Linked DNA regions of Homo sapiens: regions 1, 3, 4 and 5 are each linked to region 2. The links are contacts of gene promoters, found by promoter capture Hi-C in blood cells and fetal thymus (Javierre and others, 2016). All regions are on one chromosome and are shown on one strand. Each heading gives the region's core, a stretch centred on a gene start or on the middle of the fragment in contact. The rest is flanking DNA. Distances are from core to core; before and after follow the strand shown. Region 1 overlaps KIF6 (kinesin family member 6). Region 2 holds the start of OARD1 (O-acyl-ADP-ribose deacylase 1). Region 3 overlaps DAAM2 (dishevelled associated activator of morphogenesis 2). Region 4 overlaps SAYSD1 (SAYSVFN motif domain containing 1). Region 5 holds the start of KCNK5 (potassium two pore domain channel subfamily K member 5).

What was found. The method cuts DNA at HindIII sites, captures the fragments that hold promoters and counts their contacts. A CHiCAGO score of 5 or more calls a contact.
Region 1: a fragment that was not itself captured here is called in contact with the fragment with the promoter of OARD1 in region 2 in 3 of 17 cell types (total B cells, megakaryocytes and naive B cells); the score reaches 7.1 in total B cells.
Region 3: a contact is called between a fragment that was not itself captured here and the fragment with the promoter of OARD1 in region 2, in 1 of 17 cell types (endothelial precursors). The highest score is 5.3, in endothelial precursors.
Region 4: a fragment that was not itself captured here is called in contact with the fragment with the promoter of OARD1 in region 2 in 2 of 17 cell types (naive CD4 T cells and total CD8 T cells); the score reaches 9.1 in naive CD4 T cells.
Region 5: the fragment with the promoter of KCNK5 here is called in contact with the fragment with the promoter of OARD1 in region 2 in 1 of 17 cell types (erythroblasts); the score reaches 5.2 in erythroblasts.

Annotation. Positions count from the first base shown.
Region 1 is chr6:39,340,207-39,342,906 of GRCh38, reverse strand. The region is part of intron 22 of KIF6 (kinesin family member 6); the gene reads left to right. LOC105375047 (a long non-coding RNA gene) reads right to left here. Exons shown (of 3, transcript XR_926774.3): 3 at 206-268. Among named protein-coding and RNA genes, the nearest start is that of KCNK16, 19 kb to the right of the region's middle. The HindIII fragment of the contact is 1,310 bases long and covers 783-2,092 here.
Region 2 is chr6:41,071,045-41,073,744 of GRCh38, reverse strand. It overlaps OARD1 (O-acyl-ADP-ribose deacylase 1), which reads left to right and starts at 1,389. Exons shown (of 6, transcript NM_001329686.2): 1 at 1,389-1,509; 2 at 2,070-2,149; 3 at 2,469-2,613. The coding sequence starts at 2,111. It overlaps NFYA (nuclear transcription factor Y subunit alpha), which reads right to left and starts at 771. Exons shown (of 10, transcript NM_002505.5): 1 at 661-771. RefSeq lists silencers at 1-40, 71-700 and enhancers at 1,081-1,130, 1,161-1,370. The HindIII fragment of the contact is 4,776 bases long and covers 1-2,700 here.
Region 3 is chr6:39,884,382-39,887,081 of GRCh38, reverse strand. All of the region lies in intron 15 of DAAM2 (dishevelled associated activator of morphogenesis 2), which reads right to left. Among named protein-coding and RNA genes, the nearest start is that of DAAM2-AS1, 12 kb to the left of the region's middle. The HindIII fragment of the contact is 5,859 bases long and covers 1-2,700 here.
Region 4 is chr6:39,109,136-39,111,835 of GRCh38, reverse strand. The region is part of intron 1 of SAYSD1 (SAYSVFN motif domain containing 1); the gene reads left to right. It also overlaps the pseudogene ANKRD18EP. Among named protein-coding and RNA genes, the nearest start is that of SAYSD1, 4.7 kb to the left of the region's middle. The HindIII fragment of the contact is 1,560 bases long and covers 505-2,064 here.
Region 5 is chr6:39,228,097-39,230,796 of GRCh38, reverse strand. It overlaps KCNK5 (potassium two pore domain channel subfamily K member 5), which reads left to right and starts at 1,322. Exons shown (of 5, transcript NM_003740.4): 1 at 1,322-1,871. The coding sequence starts at 1,686. RefSeq lists an enhancer at 17-744 and silencers at 1,032-1,381, 1,482-1,561, 2,575-2,644. The HindIII fragment of the contact is 7,595 bases long and covers 1-2,700 here.

The DNA.
Region 1 (2,700 bases), core at 188-2,687, 1.7 Mb after region 2:
TGACTGATGCCTGCCCTGTGGCGCCTGCACTCAGCTTCTCCACCAGCCGTGTGCAGTTTGGGCAGGAAGAGGTTTGTGCATGGATGGAGCGCCGCAACTGAGAGCCGGCCTTGGTCCTGTACTCGCCTTGCTTGGCCGCCAGCCTGCTTATTTACTATCCTCTCTTCACCACCAGGACCAGCAGCCTCAGCAACACTGTCAGGTCCTTTCTTAAGCCTGAGACAGCCCCACCTCTGCTGTGATCTTGTCTCATTCTCAGTTTCCTTGTCTAAAAATAAAAAAAAATAAAAAAAAATAAAAAAAAATAAAAAACTGGATTCAGTGATCTCCAAGTCCCCATCTATGCCCCAAATACTCTGATGATAGGTATCAGGCACTGAACAGCAATGAACAGCCAATCAGTCAGCAAACACTGTATATGTTGGGTGCCTTCTTATGCCAGGCACTACTACTAGTGCTGGTGCTACAGCAGAGAACAAGACAGAACCCAGCACGTGAGAAACTGACATTCTAGGGGGAGGAAGGAGACAGACAATGAACACGTCGACAAATACGTAAGATTGTTTGAGGGGATAATAAGTGCTATGAAATAGCTAAACTATGTAATGTTGTAGACAGTAACTGGGAAGACTGCTTTTAGCTGGGTAGGTTGGGGAGGCCTTGCTGGAGAAGATAACTTTAAACTGACAGCTGCATCATGAGAATGGAGCAGCTACGCCGCGTTCTGGGAATGCACAGTCCTAGCAGACAGAGCGGAAAGCGAGAAGCCTGAAGGGGAAGCTTTGCTTGGCCACAGGGTGGGAAGGAAGCTAGAGTGGCTGGAGGGCAGGGAGCAAGAGCACAAGGGCCAAGTCACACCAGCCTTATGCACAGGGGAAAGAGATTTGGATTTTATTCTGGATAGAGTGGAAGCCCACTGAATAATTTTAACCATGGAGTGATATGATGTGATTGATGCTTTAAAAAGCTCACTTTGTCTGTCACATGTAGTGTAGATTGTAGGGGCCAAGGGTAGACCAGTTACCAGGCTACCATGAAAGTGCCAGCAAGGGATGATTGTGGCTTGGACTCACCAGTAGACCAAATATGAGATGCAAGAGAAAGAGGAGAGTCAGGGCACCTCCTGGGCTTTTGATCTGAGCAGCGAAGAGAATGGCAGTGCCATTTACTGAAATGAGAAAGGCAGGGAGGCATGACCATCAGAGGCAAGGAGCTGGAGGGATGGAGAGTTCTGGCTGCCCTTTTTGAAGTTTCAGATGACATTTGATGTCCAAGAGGAGGTGTCGAGTAGACAGGTGAGCATCAGTGGAGCTCAGAGAGAAAGTCTAAGCTAGAAAAAGAAATATGCAAGTCATCATGTCTGGTTGGTGTCTGAAGCCACAGGACTGAGTACAATGTCCTCTGAAGACCAGAGATGGAGGTATTCAAATTGCTGAGAACAGCCCCCTGGGGTTCTCCAACAGTTGCGGAGAGAGAGGAAGCAGAGATGCTGAGAAGGCACTGCCAGGGTGCGAAAAGGAACAGCAGATAAGTGGGTATGGCCTCAGGCACAAGCTGGAGAAGCACAAGCTGGAGAAGCACAAGCTCCAAGGGGAGACGGGCCAGTAGAGTGTGGCAGGATGGAATGTGGACCACTGGCCATTTTGCATGTCAGGGTGATCATGGACAAGCACCATTTAGCCAGGGGACTGGGAGTGGCTGGGGAGAGGGTGGAAGGGAAAGAGGCTGAGGCAGTGAGCAGATACAACCCCTCCAGGGGGTTGAGCAGTGACAGGAGCAGAGAACTGGGCTGGAGCTAAAGGGAAGCAGGAGCCCAGAGGGATGCTTTAAGACATGCTCACGTGCTGAAACATGCATAGAGAGGGAAACTGATGCTGTGGTGGGAGAGGGGAGCAGAGCTGCAGGAAAAACTTCCTTGAGAAAGTAGAGGGGACAGTGTGTGGGGCACAAGTGGAGGAAGGCTTGGATACGCAGGATATCCTTTGAGCTGAGATATCCCTTCCCCTGTAACAAATCCATAGAAACCAACCATCATTCCTCCCCTCAAGAAGCCTACAAGCAAGCAATATCTTTAAGTTACATTCACTAAGCTTTTGTACATATAAGAGATGTGATCATCTAACTCTCTCCAAACAGAAGAGGCGGAAGTCCAGGTCCCTGTCAGAGTGGTGTCCTCCTGCTAACACTGTCCCCAGGCAGTGCAGAGAGCTGGATTGAAGGGCAGGCACTTTTATTAAAATATGTATGGCAAACTACCATTTATAAATGTTTTCATTTTTATTGTTTCATTTGATGCTCTTAACGCTCCTGTAAGGCATGCAGGGCCAAGATTATGATCCCCTGTGGACAGGTGAGGAAAGGAAACTGAGGCACACAGAGGTTGTATCACTTGCCCAAGGTTACACAGCTGATAAATGGCAGAGCCAGCATAACCCAGGTTTTCTGCTCTCTCCCCACTGGGCCACACTGTCTTGAAAAGCTGCAACTACCAAGATATGCCCACTCTGCTGTCAGGAGTTCTCTCGGCCTCAGGAACAGGAACCAGCATTGACGAGGGGAGTGACCGCAGCCTCTACCCACCCTGCAGCTGGGGAGCTTTGCTCTCCAAATAAACAGCAGCCTGGAAGTAATTCATCAAAGCAAACAAAACTTCCACAGCTCAATTTTTATTCCGAAAGGAAGAATATTCATTCTGGCTTT
Region 2 (2,700 bases), core at 140-2,639:
TCCCCACCAGGGAGACAGCGGGGGCGGGCCCATAGGGCTCCGAGGCGTGGGCGGGCCAGCCCCGTTGCCAGCCGCACACGGGACCCCGCGGCCGCGGCGCGCACCCTCCCCAGGCCTCCCTCCCGACCTAGAGGGGCTGCAGATAAGACAGACCCGGCTCGCTGGGAGCGGGGAGCGGGGGGCGCGGGCCCCGGGGAGGCTTCCTGTCCCAAGGGCCGGAGAGTGGAGAGTGCAAGGGCAGGTTTAAGTTTGCGGCCAGAACGACCAGGAGGAAATCGCCGAGGCCCAGGGCGCGCATGTGTCCCCTAGTGTAGGGCCATTCGTGGCCCCAGGCCTGGGGCCTGAGAACCTGGGCCTGAGTCGGGGAACAGGGACGCATTCCCAACTGGCCCTGGCACCCTGCGAGGGTCGGAGCCCCGAGGTGCCTGCTCCCCGAGGCGCCATCCCCGCGCGGGGCGGCCCCTGCAGGCCTCGGCCGGGAGTGCCCCGAGGCGCTCGCAGGCCCCGGGCCGGGGCCGCTGGCCGCCCGGCTCGGCTAGGCTCAGCTCGACTCCCCGGGCTCGACGGGCGCCTGGGCCTCTCCTGAGTGGTCAGCGAGACCCGCCAATCGGGGCGCTGGGGCCGGCTCTGGGCCGCTGGATATTGGCTCCTCACACTCACCGTGCCTCGCTCCCCCGGTTCGCTGCCCGCGCTGATTGGCTCCAGTACCGGACTCCGAAACCCAATCAGAGGCTCCAGCCGCCGCTGCCGCCGCCACTGCCGCTGCCTAGCAAAATGGCGAACCCGAACAAAGGGGAATCGGGCCTCCCTCCAACCGCCTCCGCGCAGGCGCCTCTGAGGCCACGCCCACTAACTCCAGTTCAGGGATCGCCCCACCCCTTCGGAGGAGCAACGCGCAGGCGTTCCCTGAAGCCACGCCCACCTTCCCGCTTTGACACCACCCCCAGTGAAAGGAATACGCAGGCGCTTTCCAGACGCGCCAGACCCTTCAACTCAAAACGCTGCCTTGAGCTTAGTACTACGCAGGCGCTAACTAGCCCCTTTGCCAGCTGCCCACCCCTTTCCAAGTGGCCACTAGGACACACCCCTGCGGCTAATGCGCAAGCGCCACTTTTCCCGACTCGTGGGGCAGTTTCGTTACGCATGCGCGGGCGGCGGCGGGAAACCACGGAATTTACTGCCGGAAGTTCGGCGGCCTTCGCCAAAGAGTGTGGGCTCGGCTAGCAAGCTAGAGGGGCTCGTTTCCGCCCCGCTACCGGGCGGGGGCGGCCATCTTAGATGCGTGCAATTAAGGGCTTTGGCGGGATTGGCTCCGCGTTTGGGCTGGTCCGCTGCTCCCCACCTACCAGGGTCGGATCCGGAGCCCTTCCCCGCGGGGCGGGGACCTCCAAACAACCGACTCCTTTCCAGGTGAAGGGTGACTTGGGTACGTTGGGGCTTTGAGCGAGCCTCCCCGCACCCTCCCATAGGACCCCAGGACAGACTGCGTCCTCGCTGACCCGCCCTAGGGTAGGAGACAGAGAATGGGAGGCTTCAATAGACTCTTTCCTTCTCCCACGCACCCCCCAAAAAAGTGGGGGGTGAACGTTCCTTGAGAGGCCGCCTTCCTTTCCCCACGCCTGGGGCTCAGCACGCCAGTACCCTGTACACTCTGTGGTTGCGGCTTAACGGGACTGTGGCCAAGTCCCTTCTGTTTTCTTCTAAGCCAGACCCACTGGGGAAATACTTTTGCGTCGTGCAGAGAAAAGGAGACCGTCCTAAATCGGCCTTGCTCCGGAGTGGCCCTGGAGAAAGGAGGAGGCGTGTCTTAGGGATGGGCTTTGCTTCCGCTGACGGAGCGGGGCGCTCCAGGAAAGCACGAAATGAGAGCGGGTCGAGACAGCCTCCGAACCTAAGCGTTCTTCCTCTTTGCCCCAGAAGGGTTTTGTATTACGTCCCAGGGGCCGAACAAACTCACATTCATCGATAAACGTTGGGGAAAAAAGCCTATTAAGTGGTTGTACAGGGCAATCAGAATATTATATACTAAGGCTGCCTAAGCATTTTTACTTCCTTTTCCCTTCTCATAGCTGAAGAAACACTTAAATTCTGGAAATAGCGACTCAGTATCATGGCCAGCAGCCTTAATGAAGATCCAGAAGGAAGCAGAGTGCGTAACAACTATTGACTTATTGGTGAACTGAAATTCGTAATAATGGAGGTCAAAAGCATAAACACTTTTTAATTAAATTAATGATTGCATTATCTTTTTTTCTCTCTAGCTGATTTACTTTAAAAAGGCTCAAAATTCTAGGCAGGGATCATCCATTACTTTCCTTTTACACATGCTGTAATTGGTTTGGCTTTAAATCAGATTGGAGGAAGGGGTGCCGGGAGAGGTAGTCGTGGGGGACACAAAATACAGAAAAATAGCTTAGTATTTTACTGTATCTAATAAAACATTGTCTTTTCCTTTGCACATTTTTTAGATCACTTATGTGAAAGGAGACCTTTTTGCATGCCCGAAAACAGACTCTTTAGCCCACTGTATCAGTGAGGATTGTCGCATGGGCGCTGGGATAGCTGTCCTCTTTAAGAAGAAATTTGGAGGGGTGCAAGAACTTTTAAATCAACGTGAGTTTTGGAAACCACTTACCTGGTTTGCCCTGGCTAGAGCACCTTTTAATCTGTTACACTTTAATAAAATATGCGTGTAAAGAG
Region 3 (2,700 bases), core at 79-2,578, 1.2 Mb after region 2:
CAGAGGCCCTCCTCAGGCTTATGCTGAGAACCTGGTTGCAAACCCCCCTAGGGAACAGTTGCTGACTCCTAGGGACTTCAGGCACAGCCCAAGATGCCCAGGGTAGAGAGCATCCACAAGTTCAGAGGTATGGAAACTGAAGCAGAACTCTCTCCTCTGAGTCCCAGCAGGCAGATTCTGGAGAAATCATTGATCCCGCCCCACTCCTTCTCTTGGGCCCCTGGCGAGGTAGACAGGAGGCTGTCTAGTGTGCTGTTCTTCCTCTGGGAGGTCCCTCTTGCACAACTTCAGGGGCCGCCTTGCATGGTTATCTTTGTGAATTGTGTCGTGCCTACCCTGTGTGTCCTTACAGGAAAGGCTCTCCTTTGGCCTGGTGGGTAAGACAGTAGACCTAGAAGCCTTCTCCTCATTCCAGGAGACATTGACCTCCACTGCTGCCAGGGGTCTATTTGATTACCTCCCTCTGCTACATTTCTTCTTTCTCTTTGGGGGCCCTCTCCCATACCACCCTGTATGAATGGGGAATAAGGTAGAAAGTGGAATGGACAAGTCCTCTCTGTCAGGCCCAGTACAGAGCAGCAGCCCGGGACAGCAGTTAAAAGTTGGAGTGGTCAGAGCCCCGAGAGTAACTCACCTGCTGAGAAGGATTAGTTATCAGCTCCTAGGCAGCAGCCACAGCCAACAGAGAATTAAACATGCACAACATTAGCCAAGACATTTGGGGACCCAGAAATAGCATGACAGACACAGGGATCCCTCAGCATCTACACTGTCCACTTCATCCCAGTGAGACCCATGGTTGTAGACAGGCACCCATAAGTGGCACTAGACAGGAGCTGCTTCTAGCAGACATGCACTCACGGAGAAGCCAAACGAAGCGGAGATCAGGCAGCTCCTCCCATCTGCCTAGTGCGACCACCACTCCCCAGTTAGGGCAGACCAAACCCCTGAGTTCTCCCACCCCAGGCTTTGCTGCCTGTTCTTCCTTTTCCTCTGCTGAAAACCTGCAGAGAGGGTGGAGGACATTCCTCCATCCTGGGATGAGTTCACCTTTCTAAATAGAGGAGGAGTCACAAATGAACTCGATCTGGAAGCTCCAGAAAGTTGTGTTTACTGAGGCAGAGAAAAGCAAGTGCCCTTGAATTTGCTCACTGCCCCTCATCTGTCCTTTGATGTGCAAGGGGAACTGAAGAGGCACAGCACGCACCTCTGTTCTCCCTGACGCCGATGGAGTGGAAGCTACTGACTCAAAACTCGCATGGGGCACAGAGAAGACCATGACTCCCAGGACCTCCCCTGCCCCACAACCAACTGAGAGAAGAGGCAACAAGGTTAATACGGCCTCCGGGATCTCTCCAGTCCTGCTGCTGGGATTTCAGTCCCAGAGACTAGACGGCCCACTGAGTGAGGGGAGGCAGGTGATTGGACTGTGTGGGCTCAGAGAGGTGAGGGGGACAGGACAGGGGGTCTTTCAGTCTTAACTCTTCTCAACTCACCAAGCTGGGAGGCCCCAGACCCAGTTTGTACAAAATCCATAACCTTCTTTCCTGACTGGCCCCATCCCAGCCTCACCTCAGGGCCCTGGAGCCTGAGTAGGCTGGGCCAGAGTCCTGTCCTGCAGAAAGACTCTCAAATGAGGAGGTGGCCTGCGATCACCAAGCCTGGTATGCTTGCCACACACTCCTCTGTCCTCAACCCCACTCGTGGAGAATTGGCTCCCAGGAGCCAGTGCTCAAAGAGTTCCTTTCAGCTCCAGCAGCCTTAGCTGCCAGCCTGACATGGGCATGGGGTTAAAAATGCCTCCTGGAATTAGGAGTAGAGAATCCGATGCTGTGGGCACCCACATTTAAATTAAATAAGCAATCATCTGGCCAGAGCCCTAGGAGCGGCTGCATGTGTCCTCAGTCATCCACAGATCAGGGCTGGGCAGAAAGTGAGCTAGGGCAACCTCTCCAGCTCAGTGGGGAGCCAGGCCACAACAGCCAGCCATTGCCAGGACCCACTCATTGGCACCCAGGGAAACCCTCAAGACTGAGATCCCAGGCTAAGTAAAGAAAACAAGGAAGATGGTAGCCCAGCCCCAAGAGGGAGAAGTCCCTCTGGGGCGGGCCAGAGATAAAGCAATTCCCTGAGGCTTCTAAGCTGGTCATTCCCCAAATGGACTTAGAGGGAAGGCCCCTAGCTGCTAGTTACCAGGCGGATTCCTGGGCCCCAACTCATCTCCCGAATCACATTCCAGGATGAGGTCTGAGAAGCAACCCTTTTGGCAGTCCCCACAGATACTCGGCACAGTTTCAGATTCCCACCTCAGGAACACCCTGCGCTCTGCCACCAACTCACCCCCTACTTTCTCTGTGACTGGAAGACCAGACTGCTGGCAGCCACCTGCACATAGAGCCTTGAGAGCAATATCCAAGGCTTCCCCGGGCCTTCCCAGGCCCAGGCCCAGGCCCAGCCCCAGCCTCAGCCTCAGCCTCAGCCCCCTGAGTGACATGGAGCAGCACCTTCTGCCTTCCTTGCAAGGCAACATCCCCTGCTCGGTCTCATAGAGGTGTTGACAGACAAAATGTGGTGGAAAAGTGGTTTGAGAAGTTATTATGCCTTCTAAGCCTAGTCCCTAAATCCTGGGCCAAAGACAGCAAGGGTCCACAGTGGTCAGGCCTTGCGACTCTACCTCCGATGCTCCAGGATGGAAGAGAG
Region 4 (2,700 bases), core at 35-2,534, 2.0 Mb after region 2:
TCCTTCAGTACACTAAACTCAGTTTTCATATTTCTTATTGTCTAGTGTAAGTTGTTCACAGATAATTTTTTTTAAGGTCCAGTGACTTTTCACATGAAAGAAATGCATTCTGGACTTCCATTAGGATACGAGAATCATTACAATCCATTCCATATTGCTTAATGAGCATCATAAACTTCTTACAATGAGGGTAAGGTTTCTCATGATCCTCTGAAGCTGTTTCAGAGGGCCGAGTTAAGTCATCAGGTTCATCTCTAAATGAGTTTGCTTTTTGACCTTTTTCTTTTCATTTGACATTTTCTTTGCAGGCCTAGCATACTCTTTGTTCTCCTTCCTAGGAAATCGCTGATGGTAAGTTTTTCCACTCTTTCTTTGTTGAATTAATTTATCATCATCGTCAGCAGATGTACTATCATATACGTTTTTTTGATACTTTTTTTTTTTAACTTTCGTGCTTCTTTCTAGCTTCTTCAACCTGTGGCTGTTTATTTTCACTTTCAAGCTTTTCCTGTTCTTCCTCTGATGTCACTTGTACTTCTTGTTCTGCTTTGGATGTTTGTTCGTTCTTCCTTTCTATTGCTTTCTTCACAACAGAATCTTTCATTTCCATGGTAGGCTTTAGGGAAGGATGTTTTTCAGGAGGCCCTTCTCCCTTTCCATTTACTATATATTTTTTCCTTTTTTATATGAAGGTCCAAGTAAAGACTTTGAAACACTCTCAGGGATACACTGCTTGGTAGTAAAAGTCAAGTCTTCATCATCTGGTTTAGGCCATGAGTCAACACACAGTTTTTTTTTAAATACTGAATGCAGATGCTTCAGAACTCCCAGAATCTTTTGCACTTGCTCCTCCTGTTTTCAAACTTGCATTCTTCTTGGATGCTTCTTCTGGGTTGTCATTTTGAAGACCATTTTCAAGTATCTTTTTTTTTTAATGTTGCAAAATTTGTTGTGAGTGCTTGTCAGACCACCAGAAATAGCATAATCTGCAGTCTGTTCATACATACTCTTGAGTAAAGACAATATTTTGTTGAAGAAGAATGCTAACTATACCTGACAAGCCATAATGTACAACAGGCATGAGAGCTGTTCTTTTCAACCTATCAACAGCATGTACATTTGCTTGTTTCTTCACTAAAATTCCACCTTTTGCTGTGTTTTGCAAACTATAGCAAGTAAAAGTGGTGTGTTTGCATCCTTGTTCAGCACTTCAGTATCCTTGTTCAGCACTTCAGTATTCACATGGTGTGAGGGCAGTTTTTCTGCCAGTAGTGTATTCTCATTATACACAGCATAGTGTAGTGCATTGTTGCTATAGACATCCATAAGATCTGGGTTGGTGCCACATTCTAGCAGAATGATGACACAAATCTCTTCTTGGCAATGTACAGCCTTCATCAAAGGCATCCTGTTTCATTTGTCACCAATGTCAGTCTGGCACTTTCAGTTCACCTGGAGAGTGACCACTTCCACATGGCCATTGGCACAGGCCAAATGTAAAGCAGTCGTGTTCATCCACAGATGAAGGAATACAGAAACTCCAGGATATTTGCACAATGGAATACTCTTCAGCCATCAAACTTTAGGACATCACCCCACTTCCAGCAACGTGGAGAGAGACCTGTTCATCCACAGATGAAGGGATACAGAAACTGTAGTATTCATTCACAATGGAATACCCTTCAGCTGTGCACATATACTGAAATCATATCACCTGGAGCCACACAGTTGAACCTGTTCATCCCTTGATGAAGGGATGACAAAACTGAAATATATATCCAGAATGGAATACCCTTCCACGACAGAAGTGGATGAAATCCTGTCATTTGCAGCCATGTGGAGAAACCTGTTCATCCGCAGATGAAGGGATAAAGAAACTGTAGTATATATACACAAATGGAATACTCTTCATCCAGAAAAATGTAATGAAATTACATCATTTGCAGCCACACTGTTGAACCTAGAGGACATCATGGTAAATGACCTGTCCTGTCCACCCACAGCTGAAGGGATAAAGAAACCACCATACAGATACACTATGGAATATGCTTCAGCCATAAAGCTTTGGGAAATCCTGTCATCCACAGCCATGTGGAGAAACCCAAGAAACCCAGAGGATATTAGGTCCAAGGAAATGAGCCTGGTAGAGGAAGTCCCACACCTTTTAATCTCAGGCATGGAGATTCCAAAAACTTTATCTCCTGTCCATCTACAGATGAAGGGATCAAGAAACTGTAATGTATATGCACAAAGAATACTCTTTGGCCATCAAAATAACTAAACCATGTCATTTGGAGCAACAAAGCCACTGCGGCCTCCATTTGGGCCAAGCTCTGACTGCAATGATGCCTCTGCCCCGACCCGGGCCTCGCTGTGACTGACAATGCCGCTGCATCTTTTCAGCAGTCATTGATGAGGAAGTATCTACATCCTCCTTCCCACTACCAGATTTTGCTTGGAGAAAAGCAGTTTCCTGAAATAATTCTGTGACGAGCTTCTTCCACATTAGGACAAAAATGCTGGTAACTTTTAAAAATTCCTACAGAAACCTCCTGCTTCCCTCTCCAGCCATATCCCAGGCAAGCCCCCAGCACACCACCCTGCCCCAGAACCCATTTCCCATACCCATCCACCACTCCTGACCTCCAGGCCTTGGCTCAGGCTGGCCTTCTGCTCAAAGGCTCTCCTTTGGAGTCGCCT
Region 5 (2,700 bases), core at 73-2,572, 1.8 Mb after region 2:
CTGTTTTTAACAAATTCATTCACTCCTTCATTGCACACATGGTTATTGAGTGTCTGCTATGTATGTAACAAGCACTGTGGATACATCATTACACAAGACAGATTCTCCATCTCCCCAGCAGACATTTCCGTGTGTGTGTGTGTGTGTGTGTGTGTGTGTGTGTGTCTGTGTGTGTGTGGCGGGGAGAGGGCACAATACAGAGTAAACAATAAATAAAGTTATATAATATAGCAGAGGGAATTTAGTACTAGGAAGGACATAAAGCCAACGAGGGAGATAAGGTGGCGGGGGTGGAATTTTAAATCAGCTGGAGCATATGTATGAAAGTGGGCCGGGCGCGGTGGCTCACGCCTGTAATCCCAGCACTTTGGGAGGCTGAGGCGGGCGGATCACCTGAGGTCAGGAATTGAGACCAGCCTGGCCAACACGGTGAAACCCCGTCTCTACTAAAAATACAAAAATTAGCTGGGCGTGATGGCGTGCGCCTGTAGTCCCAGCTTCTTGAGAGGCTGAGGCAGAAGAACTGCTTGAACTCGGGAGGCGGGGGTTGCAGTGAGCCGAGATAGTGCCACTGCACTCCAGCCTGGCGACAGAGTGAGACTCCGTCTGAAAGAAAAGAGGAAAGGAGAGGAAAGGAGAAGAGAAAAGAAAAGAGAAAAGAAAAAAAGAAAAGAGGCCAAGTGTTTCCCGTAGAGATACTGTGTATTGGGGGGGCGCACAGGGGTGCCACGAATTGAGCTGCCCACTCCTTCCAGATGCAGGGTTCTCACCCGGGTAGGTGAGAACGGGGTGAGGGGGAGGAATCACGCGTGGGTGGCTGGATTAGTTCCTGATGTCCTCTGATTCCCTACAGCTTCTTCAGCCCCGTTCTAACCCCCTTCCTCAGGCTTACAAGAAAGTGTGTGGAAGAGAGACACGGAGAGACTGAGCATTAGACTTTTTTGGAAGAAACATCAGTAAATGAAAATGGAATTACAATAAAAATAACAAAAGCAATAAACTCCTGACCTCAGTCACAATCATTTTAGTTAACACGCCAGTCCTAATAACAAACACGAGTCCCTGAGACCGCAACCCCTCGGGCACCGCAGGGCGTGCAGGTCTGGGCGGGCGGCGCAGCCTCCCCTGGCGGCTGACCCTGGGAGCGCGGGGAGCGCCAAGCCTCTTCTAGCGCTCACCTCGCGCTCACTCCTGCGCTCGCCGGGCTGCTTGTGCGGGGAAGGGGCGGGGCCCGCCTGGGCTCCTCCCCGGTCGGAGCCCGGAGCAAGGGGGCAGAGCGCGCCGGGCGCTGGTTAAAGAGGCGTGCGGAGGCGGGCGCGGCGCATACTGCTAGTGGCGCGCGGAGGAGCGACGCGTGGAGAAGCGGCCCACGTGTCTGCCCAGAGTCAAGTCCTGTGTTCTTCCCGCTCCTTACGCATCCGCGGTCCAGGGCGCCCTTTCAGCCCCGCTGGTGTTCGCCCACCCCGGGCCGCGTGAGTGGGGCCCCACGCAGCTCCCCGCACTCCGTGGGCCAACTTGGCCAAGCAACTCTGTCCGGGGAGCGGTGCTTGCGGGGGGTGAGTACCGGGCACTGCGCATGCGGAGCTCCAAATTCAAACAGCTGTTTTCAGAGGCTGGAGGGCGGGCGGACTGGTAGCAGCTGGGGCTAGGAGAGGCTTTCTCTAGGAGGCGGCCGCTCGGGAGCCATGGTGGACCGGGGCCCTCTGCTCACCTCGGCCATCATCTTCTACCTGGCCATCGGGGCGGCGATCTTCGAAGTGCTGGAGGAGCCACACTGGAAGGAGGCCAAGAAAAACTACTACACACAGAAGCTGCATCTGCTCAAGGAGTTCCCGTGCCTGGGTCAGGAGGGCCTGGACAAGATCCTAGAGGTCAGTCGCCGCCTGTACCCCCATATACATCTGAAGCTGGCTTGAGCTTTAGGGGGCGCTGAAAGGAAGACCCCTTCACAGCTTTGGGTGACCCTCAGTCCCTGTGGAAGGTCCAGGGGGTGATGAGAGAGCGTGTCTCATCATGGGTCAGGCTTCGAGGATCTGTCGCTCACCCGAGGGACACAGGGGTCCCCCAGGCGCGGAGACTCTTTGGAACTTAGTTTGGCCGGAGACAAATTGGAGTTGATTCCCGGGTGAACTAGGCTCCACGGTGTTTCAGTGTGGGTGTGACGGTACCTCCCTCCTTGGGAAGAGGCTGTGGGACGGATAAAGGCGTTTATCTTTCCCTGGAGACGCTCCCGGAGTCTGGGAGCCAAGCCTGGTGCCATCCCCTCGTGTCTCCACCTCCCCGCTCCAGGGCCAGTGCCACGCCTGCCAGGCTTTTCTTAAGGAACGTGAACCCGGCAGAGTGGCGGGAGGGTCCCTCAGCCCGAGCCTGGGCAAAATCTTCCGCCCCCAGCAGAGTTCCGGAGAGGAGCTGGAGGCTCTGTGGGGCCCGAACCCACGGGATGAGGGCTGGTGCCTGGAATGCTGGGGACGCGCTCAGGCTTCCGGGAAGGCTTATCTCGCGGAGACATCCTTCAAGGGCTTGGAGTAAAACTTTGTGAAAGTAGCAGGTTGCACAAACGAATAATACCCGCGTAGTCCCTTTATGATGGGGGAGGAGAGTGTGTGCGGAATTGGGGTGGGTGGGGGACTTCCCTCCGTGCTGACATTGGGAACCGCTTATTTTCTGGTGCACAGCCCGATGGGTGGCATTGACCTCACT